Linked DNA regions of Homo sapiens: region 1 is linked to region 2. The links are contacts of gene promoters, found by promoter capture Hi-C in human tissues and cell types (Jung and others, 2019). All regions are on one chromosome and are shown on one strand. Each heading gives the region's core, a stretch centred on a gene start or on the middle of the fragment in contact. The rest is flanking DNA. Distances are from core to core; before and after follow the strand shown. Region 1 overlaps ENDOD1 (endonuclease domain containing 1). Region 2 holds the start of FUT4 (fucosyltransferase 4).

Region 1 (4,400 bases), core at 1-2,500, 560 kb after region 2:
ACATCTACTTGTATACTTGAAATCATCTGTAGATTACTTATAATACCTGGTACAATGTAAATGCTGTGTATATAGTTGTAATACTGTCTTGTTTTATTTTTTTGAATTATTCTATTTTTTTTAAGTTCCGGGGTGCATGTGCAGGATGTGTGTTTGTTACATAGGTAAATGTGTGCCATGTGGTTTGCGGTGCCTAACAGCCCATCACCTAGGTATTAAGTCTCACATGCATTAGCTTGTTTCCTTAATGTTCTCCCCTCAGCCCACCCTTCCCCAGTGAGTATTTTTCCCCTCCCTGTGTCCATGTGTTCTCATTGTTCAGCTCCTACTTATAAGTGAGAACATGCGGTGTTTGGTTTTCTGTTCCTGCGTTAGTTTGCTGAAGATAATGGCTCCTAGCTTCATCCATGTCCCTGCAAAGGACAAGATCTCATTCCTTTTTAATTTGCATTATTTTTATTGTTGTATTATTAAATTTTTTCCCTGAATATTTTTGATCCACAGTTGTGGAATCCATGGATGCAGAAGGCACAAGAATTAAGAGAGCCAACCAGTTATGGGGATGCACCTAGGGACTAGCAACAGCAGGAAGCTGTGACCATCCTAGGCCTGTGGGGTAAGGGTAGGAGCCTGGTGAGAGCCGTGTCTGTACAAAAATTCAGCCAGAGCCAGAGCCACAGCAGCCAGGCAGGGAAGCAAGGGAATGAATGTATGATCTGGTCCCTCTCTCTTCCCGCCTTCCCATTGATGGCTCCAGTCAGAAGCCAGAGGGCAACGGGGCTCAGCTGATGTGATTCCTACAAGTCAGCCTCCCATAAAAGTCAGCCTCCCATCTAAATCAATCAGCCTCCCCAGATGCAGAGTAGGGCAGAGAAGAGGGGAGATGGATCTGGAAGACAAAGGATGGACACCCAGCACAGGAGCTGTGAGGTCAGAGCTGAGGCTTGGCACCCAGATAGGATTTAGGTAGCATAGAGGAATGGTGAAAGCATCCCCAGCTGGTAGTGACAGGGGCAGTTGTAGAGAGAAGTGGGGCGCATTTACATTACAGCCATGTAACTGACATGGATGAGTGGGGGGATTGACCTATTCTGGTTGAATATAAAGGAAGGTTTGAGAGAAGAAGTTGGAGAAATTTGGCGGGGAGGCCTATGAATATGCCAGTTTGTCATTTAATCAGGAAGTAATAGGATGTTATTGAAGGTGTTAGAGTAGTGAAATGTTCAAAGGAATATGCATAGCAAAAGTAGACTTCTCACTCCACCTAGGACTGAGGAAGGAAGTCCTTGCTTACACATGTTACATGATCAGAATATTAGCTGATCTAATAGGTGGAGGATCCAAAGGACCCACAGTATTTTGTTCTCTACCTTGGCATTATGACAGCTCTTGCGATTTGTGGATAATTCCTCTCTCAATATCACGGGAATAAATTAAGCTTAGCCAGGGCACTCCCCAAAATGATTTAAACATTTGTTTTTCAGCGTGAGGTTCATAGACACCCCCCCCTTTCCCCCGTCAGCATCACCTGGGATGGTGGTGAAAATGCATATGGAGGTCCCACCCCAGACATACTGAATAGAATGTATCTCTGTGGTGAAGAACAGGAGTCTGCATTTTTGACAGCCACTGCAGGAAATTAGTGATGTCTCCTTAATTCAGTTGAATTTGAGAACTATTGATTTAAGGAGACATCACTAATTTCCTGCAGTGGCTGTCAAGGTAGGGGCTTAATTCCTTCAGAGAGTGATCAATGAGAACCTGATGGAGATCTAGCCCCATGGTTCCTATTACAATCGTATTAGAATCACCTGGGGAAATTTAAAAACACCCTGATGCTGGGGTTGGGTGGAGGGGAACTTTTTTTTTACTGGTTTAAGAAGTCTGGGTTGTAGTCCCAGCTACTCGGGAGGCTGAGGCAGGAGAATGGCGTGAACCTAGGAGGCGGAGCTTGCAGTGAGCAGAGATCGGGACACTACCCTCCAGCCTGGGCGAGAGAGCGAGACTCAGTCTCAAAAAGAAAAAAAAAAAAAAAGGTCTGGGTGAGGCCTGAGGATATTTTTAAAGCTCCCAGGTGATTCTGATGTGCAGCCAGGCCTAAGAACCTTTGATCTTGTCTGAACTCAGAAGGTGGAAAAAATTAGAAATGGAGCCTTCTCAATGTAAGGGACTCCTCTGAATTCTGTACCACACAGTCAATGCTAAGAATAATTGCTCTGGAAAGGATAGCAGAGTGGAAAACAGGCTTCTGTGAGTAACGTGGAAGGAAACCAAAGAAGACCAGGGCTGATGTAACCTGAGAAGGTACTGCAGTCTGGAAAGGTCTTAAAGGAGTCCGCACACTTTTTTTTGTTTGTTTGAGACGGAGTCTTGCTCTGTCACCCAGGCTGGAGTGCAGTGGCGCGATCTCGGCTCACTGCAACTTCTGCCTCCCGGGTTCAAGCGATTCTCCTGCCTCAGCCACCCGAGTAGCTGGGATTACAGGCGCGCGCCACTCCGCCCGGCTAATTTTTTTGTATTTTTCATAGAGACGGGGTTTAGTAGAGACCGTGTTAGCCAGGATGATCTCGATCTCCTGACCTCGTGATCCGCCCGCCTTGGCTTCACAAAGTTCTGGGATTACAGGCGTGAGCCACCGCGCCCGGCCGGAGTCCGCACATTTTCTTAGGCTCCCTGGAGGAGCTTGAAACTCCTCGCTGTGTGTGATGAGCAGCCAGAGGTGTCCCCGGGAGAGTCTGTTTGCCCCCAGGCCACCCATTGGCCTTCACACAGGGCTTTCTTGCCTGCATTTATTGCCAGTTTGGAGTTGGTGAATTTAAAGAATTCCTCCTTTTATTTTTATTTTTTCAACTAATCAAGAAAAAGGGAAGTCTGAAATGCAAGTAGAACACCCACCCTTTCGAACGTTTTATCTTCCGTTCCACCGTCTTCTGACTCGGGAGAGAGCTCTTTAGCCATTTGTCTTTGTTTTCCCACAGTTTGCCAACACCTACGGGTGTGCACAGCACAGGCCAGAGCTGGAAATGCGTCCTTCTTCCCACAGCCAGGAAGGTGTGTGAGTGGTGCTGGGAGCCCAGAGGAAGGGTGATTCACTGGAGGAAGGCGGAGAGGACAAGGACATGCTCTGCTAAAAGGCCTTTCAGGAAATGAAAAGCTCTGCATTTCTCTTTTCTAAACACACACACACACACACACACACACACACACAGACACCCAAAAAAAGAAAAAAGAAAAATGAGCATTCCCCTAATTCTTCTAAAGCGGTTTCTATTCCCAAGAGGATAAAGAGTATTTTAGATGCCAAGCACGGAAGATTTTTTTTTCCTGAAATGGGTGGGTTGGCACTTTCTTTCCTGAGAGCTGAAAAGGCCTCATGCTTTATTCCTCCTCAAATGTCCTTAATCTGCTGTGGCCCCACCATCCTCCCCCTCCATTGTTGAAAGGCAGCAGCTCCTTCCCTCGCTGGGTATTTCCCATGGTAAGTAGGTTCTCCTAGGACTCACCCGAGCCTCAGATTGAGTTCATCCTACTGTGTGTGACTGTGCAGAGGACCTTTAGGCCCCTGTAGGCAGCTCTGATAAGATTATCTGATGTTCTCATTATCAGCTGCACCCACGATCTTTTCTAAGGAGGGGCTCTTTGACCCACCTGATGATGGCAGCAGGGGTGTTGGCATTCCTTTTACATCCCAGTGTGTGTGGGTGTGTGCCTATATTGTAGTTCACACAGCAGAAATAAAATGGGAACACCCACTGTTCAGCTCATTCTATTATTTTAACTCTTGTTGAAAAATAAAACAAACCCCTAAGGAAATAGCGTCTTTGTCCCCACGGAGTTGGATAGCTCCCTAGGTCATCTCCTGACCACAGGATCTTGTCGGAATCATCCCCTACATGTGCTTATCTAGCCTCAGCTTAAAATTCTCCAGGGGAAGGAAACTCCACCCTCCATGAGTCAGAGTCATTGAGAGTTTAATAACCACTTTGATGGTCTGTTGTCAGGACCACCTTTTCCTTGCAGCAGATCAAGGAGCAGAATTAGAGGAGAGCCAGTTCTCTCTGGAGACTCATCTGCAAATTGGAGGAAATCTTATGTGCATCAGAAGATTGTTGTGGAGCTCAAATGAGATCATTCTTTCAACAAATGCCAGTCACTCCCTGGTGTGCAGGACCATCATGCTAGGTCTGGGAACACAGAGATAATTGGGCACTGGCCCTGGCCCTTCAATTCAGTGGTTCAGACTGATGGATAAACATACCGTCTCAGTGCAGTGGCAGACTCCTCTGCTTTGTCTTTGGAGGTCAGCCTGCCAAACTCGGCTGCCCACTTGTGTCCCACACTCTGAGGCGCTGTCTCCACTCACACCAGTTGCCCATCAGCAGCAGGGCCACACCTGGCCT
Region 2 (4,393 bases), core at 572-3,071:
CTTAATTGGAACATTCGGAGGCTTAAGAGAAAATCGGGAGTGGTGGAAGGAAGCAATCAAGCAGGGTAATATTTCCCAAATGCCTACCGGCCACGTGCCAGACACAATGTTAGGCTCTATCTGTGATGTCTTATTTAACTGAAGAGGGAGAAGAATGTGAATAAATGGCTGGATTCTTGAATTGCATAAAAAGAGAAGCCAATACACTTTTTCCTTTATTTCGTTTAAACAAGTAATTTGTGCATTTATAGCTTTTTCTTTTAATTAAAAGTAAGAGTGGAAAAAAGTCACTGAAATGTCTAATTTCAAATAAAATATTTGATTTCTAATTTCTGTTTTTCAAACAAACAAAAAACCCCAGAAGCATTATGAAAGGTTTTACTGTGCAGGAGGAAATGTTACTAGGTTGATGGGCCTAGCCAGAACACCTAACATCCTCCATCTAGTCTCCAAACTGAGGCTGTGGCCCTGCAGAGAGCGCCACCCGGAAGCCACTTTTATAGAAGCTTTTACACACAATGCTTGATTTTTTTTTTTTTTTTTCCGAGACGGAGTCTCGCTTTGTCGCCCAGGCTGGAGTGCAGTGGCGCGATCTGGGCTCACTGCAAGCTCCGCCTCCTGGGTTGACGCCATTCTCCTGCCTCAGCTTCCCGAGTAGCTGGGACTACAGGCGCCCGCCACCAAGCCTGGCTAATTTTTTTTTATTTTTAGTGGAGACAGAGTTTCACCGTGTTAGCCAGGATGGTCTCGATCTCCTGACCTCGGGATCCGCCCGCCTCGGCCTCCCAAAGTGCTGGGAGTATAGGCGTGAGCCACCGCGCCTGGCCTATACTTGATTTTTAATGAAAACATTCTTAAATTCATATGGCTAACGCAAATTTATTTTCTGTAGGCATAACATCAAAAACACCTGGCAGGATTGCCCCATTCCCAGCACTGTCTATTTCTCCCCTAGTATCAGTGGGACTCCACTGATGCACAGCTGTGATCTACTAAAACTTCTCTCAAAACTTTCTCCTCTCCTTAGGTCAGCAGCCCCGCCCCTGATCTATTTGGAAATCCCCTGAATAAAAGTTGAATATCATAAACCAAAGCGAACACCCAGAAATTCAAATTCAACCCGTAGGTAAAAAATTTCTCAAGTGACTGTAGACGTAGATGTCTCCAGTGTCGCCTAATAAGGTAGAAGAGGCCAGTGCGATACTGTCTTTACACCCTTAACTTGGGTGCTAGAATATTTATCTTCGTCATCATTTTATCATCCAAACTATTTTGCATAACTTTCATGGGTGCAGAAAATGTTTTTTAAGTGCTTGGTAAAATTAATAGTGATATTCATTCATTCATCTCACTGAACAGGCAATAAATTCCTTGACGACAAGGGCCTTGGGGGGGTCACATCTTCATCTTTGGTTTATGAGTCCTGTGCGTCTTGGTACAAGCAATACTACTATGAGCCGGCAAGTCAGACTTATTTGGTAGGGGACCAAAGGAAAGAACATGTTTTGATTGCTAAGAAAACATTTTGTTCTCTATCCTTTACTGGGCTGGCAGGCAAAGGAAATGTTCTTATGAGCACTCACATTGAAAACTTAAGTTCTTCACCAAATGCAGAGACTCTGAAGGCCACGCCGCTGCGGGCTGCCTCCACAATTCGACCGTCTCGGCGGGCCACGAGATCCTGGCCACGGATGCGGTGGCCGCGCCTCTGCTCGCACGTTCCCCCGGCCTCTGGACTCCCTCCCTCCCTCAATCCCTCCCTCCGGCGGGCGTCGCTGGCGGGTGGCTAGGCCCAACGGCAGGAAGCCGACGCTATCCTCCGTTCCGCGGCGCCGGGTCCGCCTTCCGTCTGTTCTAGGGCCTGCTCCTGCGCGGCAGCTGCTTTAGAAGGTCTCGAGCCTCCTGTACCTTCCCAGGGATGAACCGGGCCTTCCCTCTGGAAGGCGAGGGTTCGGGCCACAGTGAGCGAGGGCCAGGGCGGTGGGCGCGCGCAGAGGGAAACCGGATCAGTTGAGAGAGAATCAAGAGTAGCGGATGAGGCGCTTGTGGGGCGCGGCCCGGAAGCCCTCGGGCGCGGGCTGGGAGAAGGAGTGGGCGGAGGCGCCGCAGGAGGCTCCCGGGGCCTGGTCGGGCCGGCTGGGCCCCGGGCGCAGTGGAAGAAAGGGACGGGCGGTGCCCGGTTGGGCGTCCTGGCCAGCTCACCTTGCCCTGGCGGCTCGCCCCGCCCGGCACTTGGGAGGAGCAGGGCAGGGCCCGCGGCCTTTGCATTCTGGGACCGCCCCCTTCCATTCCCGGGCCAGCGGCGAGCGGCAGCGACGGCTGGAGCCGCAGCTACAGCATGAGAGCCGGTGCCGCTCCTCCACGCCTGCGGACGCGTGGCGAGCGGAGGCAGCGCTGCCTGTTCGCGCCATGGGGGCACCGTGGGGCTCGCCGACGGCGGCGGCGGGCGGGCGGCGCGGGTGGCGCCGAGGCCGGGGGCTGCCATGGACCGTCTGTGTGCTGGCGGCCGCCGGCTTGACGTGTACGGCGCTGATCACCTACGCTTGCTGGGGGCAGCTGCCGCCGCTGCCCTGGGCGTCGCCAACCCCGTCGCGACCGGTGGGCGTGCTGCTGTGGTGGGAGCCCTTCGGGGGGCGCGATAGCGCCCCGAGGCCGCCCCCTGACTGCCGGCTGCGCTTCAACATCAGCGGCTGCCGCCTGCTCACCGACCGCGCGTCCTACGGAGAGGCTCAGGCCGTGCTTTTCCACCACCGCGACCTCGTGAAGGGGCCCCCCGACTGGCCCCCGCCCTGGGGCATCCAGGCGCACACTGCCGAGGAGGTGGATCTGCGCGTGTTGGACTACGAGGAGGCAGCGGCGGCGGCAGAAGCCCTGGCGACCTCCAGCCCCAGGCCCCCGGGCCAGCGCTGGGTTTGGATGAACTTCGAGTCGCCCTCGCACTCCCCGGGGCTGCGAAGCCTGGCAAGTAACCTCTTCAACTGGACGCTCTCCTACCGGGCGGACTCGGACGTCTTTGTGCCTTATGGCTACCTCTACCCCAGAAGCCACCCCGGCGACCCGCCCTCAGGCCTGGCCCCGCCACTGTCCAGGAAACAGGGGCTGGTGGCATGGGTGGTGAGCCACTGGGACGAGCGCCAGGCCCGGGTCCGCTACTACCACCAACTGAGCCAACATGTGACCGTGGACGTGTTCGGCCGGGGCGGGCCGGGGCAGCCGGTGCCCGAAATTGGGCTCCTGCACACAGTGGCCCGCTACAAGTTCTACCTGGCTTTCGAGAACTCGCAGCACCTGGATTATATCACCGAGAAGCTCTGGCGCAACGCGTTGCTCGCTGGGGCGGTGCCGGTGGTGCTGGGCCCAGACCGTGCCAACTACGAGCGCTTTGTGCCCCGCGGCGCCTTCATCCACGTGGACGACTTCCCAAGTGCCTCCTCCCTGGCCTCGTACCTGCTTTTCCTCGACCGCAACCCCGCGGTCTATCGCCGCTACTTCCACTGGCGCCGGAGCTACGCTGTCCACATCACCTCCTTCTGGGACGAGCCTTGGTGCCGGGTGTGCCAGGCTGTACAGAGGGCTGGGGACCGGCCCAAGAGCATACGGAACTTGGCCAGCTGGTTCGAGCGGTGAAGCCGCGCTCCCCTGGAAGCGACCCAGGGGAGGCCAAGTTGTCAGCTTTTTGATCCTCTACTGTGCATCTCCTTGACTGCCGCATCATGGGAGTAAGTTCTTCAAACACCCATTTTTGCTCTATGGGAAAAAAACGATTTACCAATTAATATTACTCAGCACAGAGATGGGGGCCCGGTTTCCATATTTTTTGCACAGCTAGCAATTGGGCTCCCTTTGCTGCTGATGGGCATCATTGTTTAGGGGTGAAGGAGGGGGTTCTTCCTCACCTTGTAACCAGTGCAGAAATGAAATAGCTTAGCGGCAAGAAGCCGTTGAGGCGGTTTCCTGAATTTCCCCATCTGCCACAGGCCATATTTGTGGCCCGTGCAGCTTCCAAATCTCATACACAACTGTTCCCGATTCACGTTTTTCTGGACCAAGGTGAAGCAAATTTGTGGTTGTAGAAGGAGCCTTGTTGGTGGAGAGTGGAAGGACTGTGGCTGCAGGTGGGACTTTGTTGTTTGGATTCCTCACAGCCTTGGCTCCTGAGAAAGGTGAGGAGGGCAGTCCAAGAGGGGCCGCTGACTTCTTTCACAAGTACTATCTGTTCCCCTGTCCTGTGAATGGAAGCAAAGTGCTGGATTGTCCTTGGAGGAAACTTAAGATGAATACATGCGTGTACCTCACTTTACATAAGAAATGTATTCCTGAAAAGCTGCATTTAAATCAAGTCCCAAATTCATTGACTTAGGGGAGTTCAGTATTTAATGAAACCCTATGGAGA

Evidence for each region. The method cuts DNA at HindIII sites, captures the fragments that hold promoters and counts their contacts. A contact is called where the count stands out against the background at its distance.
Region 1: a contact is called between a fragment that was not itself captured here and the fragment with the promoter of FUT4 in region 2, in 1 of the 25 tissues and cell types used here (spleen).

The regions. Positions count from the first base shown.
Region 1 is chr11:95,105,320-95,109,719 of GRCh38, forward strand. The region is part of intron 1 of ENDOD1 (endonuclease domain containing 1); the gene reads left to right. Among named protein-coding and RNA genes, the nearest start is that of ENDOD1, 18 kb to the left of the region's middle. RefSeq lists an enhancer at 2,797-3,996. The HindIII fragment of the contact is 5,781 bases long and covers 1-4,141 here.
Region 2 is chr11:94,542,100-94,546,492 of GRCh38, forward strand. It overlaps FUT4 (fucosyltransferase 4), which reads left to right and starts at 1,822. Exons shown (of 1, transcript NM_002033.4): 1 at 1,822-4,393. The coding sequence starts at 2,035. The coding sequence ends at 3,627. PIWIL4-AS1 (PIWIL4 antisense RNA 1) reads right to left here. Exons shown (of 5, transcript NR_135093.1): 5 at 3,233-3,747. RefSeq lists a silencer at 2,010-2,579 and an enhancer at 3,399-4,073. The HindIII fragment of the contact is 7,218 bases long and covers 1-4,393 here.